Linked DNA regions of Homo sapiens: region 1 is linked to region 2. Evidence: promoter capture Hi-C in 16 types of primary human blood cells and fetal thymus (Javierre and others, 2016). All regions are on one chromosome and are shown on one strand. Each heading gives the region's core, a stretch centred on a gene start or on the middle of the fragment in contact. The rest is flanking DNA. Distances are from core to core; before and after follow the strand shown. Region 1 holds the start of MTMR12 (myotubularin related protein 12). Region 2 holds the start of PDZD2 (PDZ domain containing 2).

Region 1 (2,842 bases), core at 82-2,581, 670 kb after region 2:
GCAAAACAAGAAGGCTTCTCATTAGGCATTTGGATTAAGAACTATTGCTCAAGAAGCCCTGAGCAAGGCCTACAAGTTCTGATCTCTCTAACCTCCTCTCCTATGACTGTCCCCCTTGTCCATGGGCCTCTGCCATGCTGGCTTCCTTGACGCTCCGCCAACCCTTCAGACACACTCCCACCTCACGACCTTCCCGGGGGCTGTTCCCTCTACCTGGACGACTCTTCTCTCAGACCTCTCGTATCTTCAAGTCTCGGCTCAAATGCCACCTTTGCGAGGAGGAAAAAGATTTCTTTTCTTTCCCATGATATTTATCACCTCCTACTACACCGTATAATTTACTTAATTATCTATAATTCACCCCGTTTCTCCTTTCCCCCTCAAATAAGCTCCAGGAATGCAGAGATCTCTGTCCTGTTCACTGATGTCTATCACAAGCACTTAGTGCCTGACACACAGTAGGAGCTCGAGAAGTATTTTCTGAATGAATGAACAAATTTCTTGACCTGAAGATTCAGAAGAGTAAGAAGTGGGTGGAAAGGATGATGGTGAGGGGATGAGGAGAAAGAAGCGACAGCGGAGAATTCCCAAGGGAGAGACAAGCAGAGACTGGCTGAGGCCAGGCCGACCCCCTTTTCTCCCCGCAGCGCTGACGGGAGGCGGACGTAGGTGCAGGGCATCCCGCCAGCCGCACCCGAGGCACTCAGACGCAGGCAGCGGAGGCCGGCGGGCTTCTGGGCTCACTGAGAAAGTCCAGAGGCAGGACGGACCCACGCGGGCTCCGAGCAGGCCCCGTTGGGGGCTCCGACCCACGGCCCTACCCCTCCCAGCAGTGCCCACAACCCCAGGTCCTCTCCAGAATCCCCAGGGGCGTTCCGGGCCGCAATCCCTTCTCGGCTCGGGCCCCTCCACCAGCCTCCAGCGCTCGGGCCCTGCGCTCAGGCACCTGCCTGCCTGCGCCGGGGTCCCCATTCCGGCCCGCGCGGAGGCCCCAGCGCGCTCCTGCGGCCTCAGCCCGCCTGGCTGCCCCGTCGCCCGGCACAAGGGCAGGAAGCGCTCCGCGGCGCTCCCCGCTGCAAGGAAGGGGCTCCCGGCGCCCCTCGCCCCGGCCGCCCCTGCCCGACGCCCCGCCTGCGCGGCGCCCCCTCACCTCAGGGCGTACGTACGACACGAAGGAGGGCTTGGGGGCCTTGGTGCCGCCGCCACCGCCGACTACTCCTTTCCCCAGCATACCGCCGCCCTGGGAAGCAGCGACGCGCGGACGCAGAGGCGGCGGCTCGGGCTCCAGCTGGGGCAGCAGCGGCGGCCACCAGCACTAGCGGCTGGGGCTCCGCCCATCCCCAAGGCCGCGACCGCCGCGATGCCGCCCGCATCCGGCTCCGCCGCTGACACCGCTCGCCCCGCCCAGGCCCGTGGGCCCCGCCCATCCCGTGCGCGGGCCCAGAGAGCCGGGAGACCGCAACTGGAGGCCACGCCCCCCCATCACGTCAGGAGAGTTTGACCCGCCGAGATTCACCACCTTCCTGCGGCAGAGCCCGCCCTCATGCTTTCTCTGATTGGCCCGAGGCGCTGCCGGCCGAACCCCGCTCCCAACCCATTCTTGAGTGCACTTGGAGAGATGTTTCCTCCAACCAATCCAGAGAGCGTTCTCTCCGGACTTTCCAACGATTGGATGGCGAGGATAAAACCGTCGTCCAATGATCCTGCAGTCACCAAGTTGTCGTTAGCAGGGGTTCACGGCAGTCGTTTTCTTCCGTTTGCTTGTGTCTTTGGAATAAAACGTCCAAAAATGGGATGTATGGAATCTTGCTATAGGAGTTCCCAACTTACAGCGATGACGTTCAAGGTTTTTTATTTTATTATTATTTACTTTTGAGACGGAGTTTTGCTCTTGTCGCCCAGGCTGGAGTGCAATGGCGCGATCTCTGCTCATTGCAACCTCCGTCTCCCAGGTTCAAGCGATTCTCTTGCCTCAGCCTCCTGAGTAGCTGGGATTACAGGCGCCCGCCACTATATCCAGCTAATTTTGTGTGTGTGTGTGTGTGTGTGTGTGTGTGTCGTTCTGTCGCCCAGGCTTGAGTGCAATGGCGTAGTATAGGCTCACTGCAACCTCTGCCTCCCAGGTTCAAGCGATTCTCCTGCCTCAGCCTCCCGAGTAGCTGGGATTATAGGCGCCTGCCATCACACCCGGCTAATTTTTGTATTTTTAGTAGAGACGGGGTTTCACCATGTTGGCCAGGCTAGTCTCAAACCCCTAACCTCGTGATCCGCCCGCCTCAGCCTCCCAAAGTGTTGGGATTAGAGGCATGAGCCACCGCGCCATGCCGCTAATTTTTGTATTTTTAATGGAGACGGGGGTTTCACCATGTTGGCCAGGCTGGTCTCAAACTCCTGACTTCAGATGATCCACCCGCTTCGGCCTCCCGAAGTGCTGGGATTACAGGCGTGAGCCACCGCGCCCGACCTCAAGGTTTATTATTTTAAATGTAAACAAAAATGAGACAAACGATGACTCACGCCTCTAATCCCAGCACTTTGGGAGGCCGAGGCGGGTGGATCATCTGAAGTCAGGAGTTTGAGACCAGCCTGGCCAACATGGAGAAACCCTATCTCTACTAAAAATACAAAAATTAGCCTGGTGTGGTGGCGGGCGCCTGTAATCCCAGCTACTCGGGAGGCTGAGGCACGAGAATCGCTTGAACCAAGGTTGCAGTGAGCCAGGATCGCGCCACTGCACTCCAGCCTGGGTGGCAGAGCAAGACTGTGTCTCAAACAGAAAAAAAAAAGTGTCAAATCAAGTGTTAACAAGGCAGTGAGGAATAAGTTTGAGCGTTTGATAATA
Region 2 (2,749 bases), core at 244-2,743:
GTGGTGGAAGATGGGCCTGGGATTGTGGAAAAAACAGAAAGCACCAGCCCTGTTTGATCCTTCTAGAAGGATTTTTTTGTAGTGTCCCAATGATACCTTTCATTGATAATGGTTACCATTTCATTGAGCACCTCCTAAGTGCTGTGCTGAATAGCTGTGTTACTGCTAGTTCCAGCAATCCTGCATGGTAGGTGTTTTCTCTATTTACACATAGGAAGAGAAGCTCTGAGTGCCTGAGTGCCCAGCTTGTCATATACGATGCTTGGATTTGTGCAAGCATTGATCTCAATGGCCTGGTAATTATAAAAGCTGAAGAACAGCTGAAATCAAGAACTTCTCCACCCCAGCCCCTGAGGACAATACCACCTCCAAATGCCTTGGGCCCACTCTGGTCTCTGGTGTGGTGGGACAGCGCTGTCCGGTCTGCGCAGGTGATTTATGTCTGCCTGCTTTTCGGAGAGGCCAGAGTTTATTGCCTTGCTGGGCAGAACTGCAGCTGGGGCCTGCCCTGTCCCATCCCCATCCCCCCGAAAGCAAAGATTTCCAATTACTGTTCTGTAGAAAATGTCAAAAGCATTATTCAACTATTCATTATCCCAGGTTTTGCAATTTTTCATATGTTTTTACTCTTATCTGCCAGCACTTGAAAAAGACCAGCTTTTTCCTCTTAAGAGAGCTTAATTTGCAGAGCTGTGCAGTCTTCCTATTATGTTCTTATCATCCTCTCCCTTTGGTAGGCAGAATGACAAGGATGACAAAAAAAGAACCAAAAATATTTGAAGGCCTTCCTGAAAATCCACCGGAATGAAGGATCCCAAAAGCCTGAGGCTCGGTTCCTCGAGTGACCTGGACGGGAGCCAAGGGCGGCTGGCATTAGCTCTCACAGTCCACTCGGCAGGAGCTCGTGGCTAGTGCTCATGGGACCAAAACCACCACCCCAGGGCCATGGGATTCCCCCCCAGGGGCTTAACTGGGGGATTAAGCAGCTCTGAGGTGCCAAGAGGTCCCCTCTCCCCGAAATCCTCGTACCAGTGCTAAATTACCTTTGGTATCCCAAGGACCAGAGGCTAAGGGTAGCTTGGGGTGAGTGGTTAGCTCTTCCCCCATCTCCTGTGGCCCCTCCGCCCCATTCTTTGATAAGGTAACTGACATTTTTCTCTTTGCTGTGTAAAGTGCTATGCAGAGGCAACTTCACGTCCCCTAGCTCGCTCTGTTCCACCTAGATGGCGCCCTAAGCCCCGCCTGTATGGAGATTCGGAGCAGCCATCTCCCTGGATGCCTTCCTCCCACGATCCCCAGGTTTCTGAAGCGGGCGCACCAGGACTCCTGGCTCACCCAGAGAGACGCCTTGCCCGCGGCGGGGCTCGCTCGGGGAAATCCCCGCCCACCTTGTTATTCCTGCAGGGGAATCCCCGCCCCCCGTCCCTGTCACTCGGGGAAGGGAGTTCCCGCCCCTCGAATCAACCAGGGGGAGGGAATCCCCGCCCATCCTGGAGGCTCGGCGGATCCCCTGCGCAGCGAGGCGAGGAGCGGACCCCAGCGCCGGTGCGTGCCGGCCCCGGGCAGCGGGACGCGGCGGGGCGGCGGCTGCAGGCAGCCGAGGAGCCGCAGGCCGAACCCAAGGCACCGGGATTGCGCCTCCCGCGGCTGCCGGCGAACCGCGGCTCTGCAGCTCGGGGCAGGCGCGGCGGCGGCACCGGTGGTGGCCGCGGTGGCGGCAGCTGCGCGGGGACCCGCCGGGCGGCGCCTGGGTCTGGACGCGCGAGGAAGCCGCGGGAGCCTCGGCCAAGCCGCGAGCAGGTGAAGCGACCGTCCCGCTGCAGCCGGGACGCGCGGCTCCGGGTGGGCAGGGGATGGGGGAGGCCCGGCACCCCCGAGACCGTGTGTGCCCAGGAAAGTTTAGCTACAAATCCGGGTGCGGGAATCCCAGCCCTGGCAGGGCGGGGAGTGAGGACGCCGAACCGGGGTCCCACGTTGGGCGGCGCAAACTCCTCTAGCATCCGGCCGGGGACGGGGAGGGCGCAGCCCAGGGGAGGGGGCTAGACAGAGCGGGACCGAGACAGCGGGACAACCGGAGACGCACTGCCGGGGGTACTCAAGACAGGGCCGGGACCTCCTGCTCGGGCGCGCATCCCGGGTCCCCATCCCTGGGCCGTCTTCTGGTCCCTTCCTCCGACAGGAGTGGAGGTACTCAGGTACTCCGGCCTCAGGTAATGTCTTGGGGACCATCCTCCCTCGGGCTTGTTTCATCTCTCAACCCCCGCCTCTTTGCCCAGATGAGACGTTAGACGCGGGGCGAGGGAATGCAGGGGGCGCGCAAAGATCAAGGGCATCTTAGGGCCGGTTATTGGCGTCTGCCGGGGAGATGGGGAACATAGTGATAGGGAAATCCTGCTCTCTCTCTGAAGTCGAGTTTCTCCTAAAATCTGGTTTCTCCCTCCCTCTGTTCCTCTCTCCCTCCCTCGGGTTTGCGTTTGTGTTTTAAGTCTTTGAGCTGCCTGTGGTCCCCGCTATTTGGAAAATCCATTAAAGCGCAAGGCTGAATTCAGCAGCAGGAGGGTCCAGGACCCCTGGCAGGAGTTTGCCAGAAGCTGTCCTCGGCAGCCCAAATCTATGCAGAGACCTTGATAAGGGACACTGGAGTGGGAAGAGGACAAGGTCTGGCATGGGCTGGTCGCAGAGACTGGAATGGCAGGCACGAGGGCATTCCAGAGCTCCAGACCTGCCCTGGGACTGGCCGTTGGGCAGT

Evidence for each region. The method cuts DNA at HindIII sites, captures the fragments that hold promoters and counts their contacts. A CHiCAGO score of 5 or more calls a contact.
Region 1: a contact is called between the fragment with the promoter of MTMR12 here and the fragment with the promoter of PDZD2 in region 2, in 10 of 17 cell types (non-activated CD4 T cells, total CD4 T cells, activated CD4 T cells and 7 more). The highest score is 24.5, in non-activated CD4 T cells.

The regions. Positions count from the first base shown.
Region 1 is chr5:32,311,608-32,314,449 of GRCh38, forward strand. MTMR12 (myotubularin related protein 12) reads right to left here and starts at 1,332. Exons shown (of 16, transcript NM_001040446.3): 1 at 1,151-1,332. The coding sequence starts at 1,231. RefSeq lists silencers at 661-800, 871-1,660 and an enhancer at 1,751-1,800. The HindIII fragment of the contact is 10,159 bases long and covers 1-2,842 here.
Region 2 is chr5:31,637,638-31,640,386 of GRCh38, forward strand. It overlaps PDZD2 (PDZ domain containing 2), which reads left to right and starts at 1,494. Exons shown (of 25, transcript NM_178140.4): 1 at 1,494-1,800. RefSeq lists a silencer at 1,448-1,797. The HindIII fragment of the contact is 6,072 bases long and covers 1-2,749 here.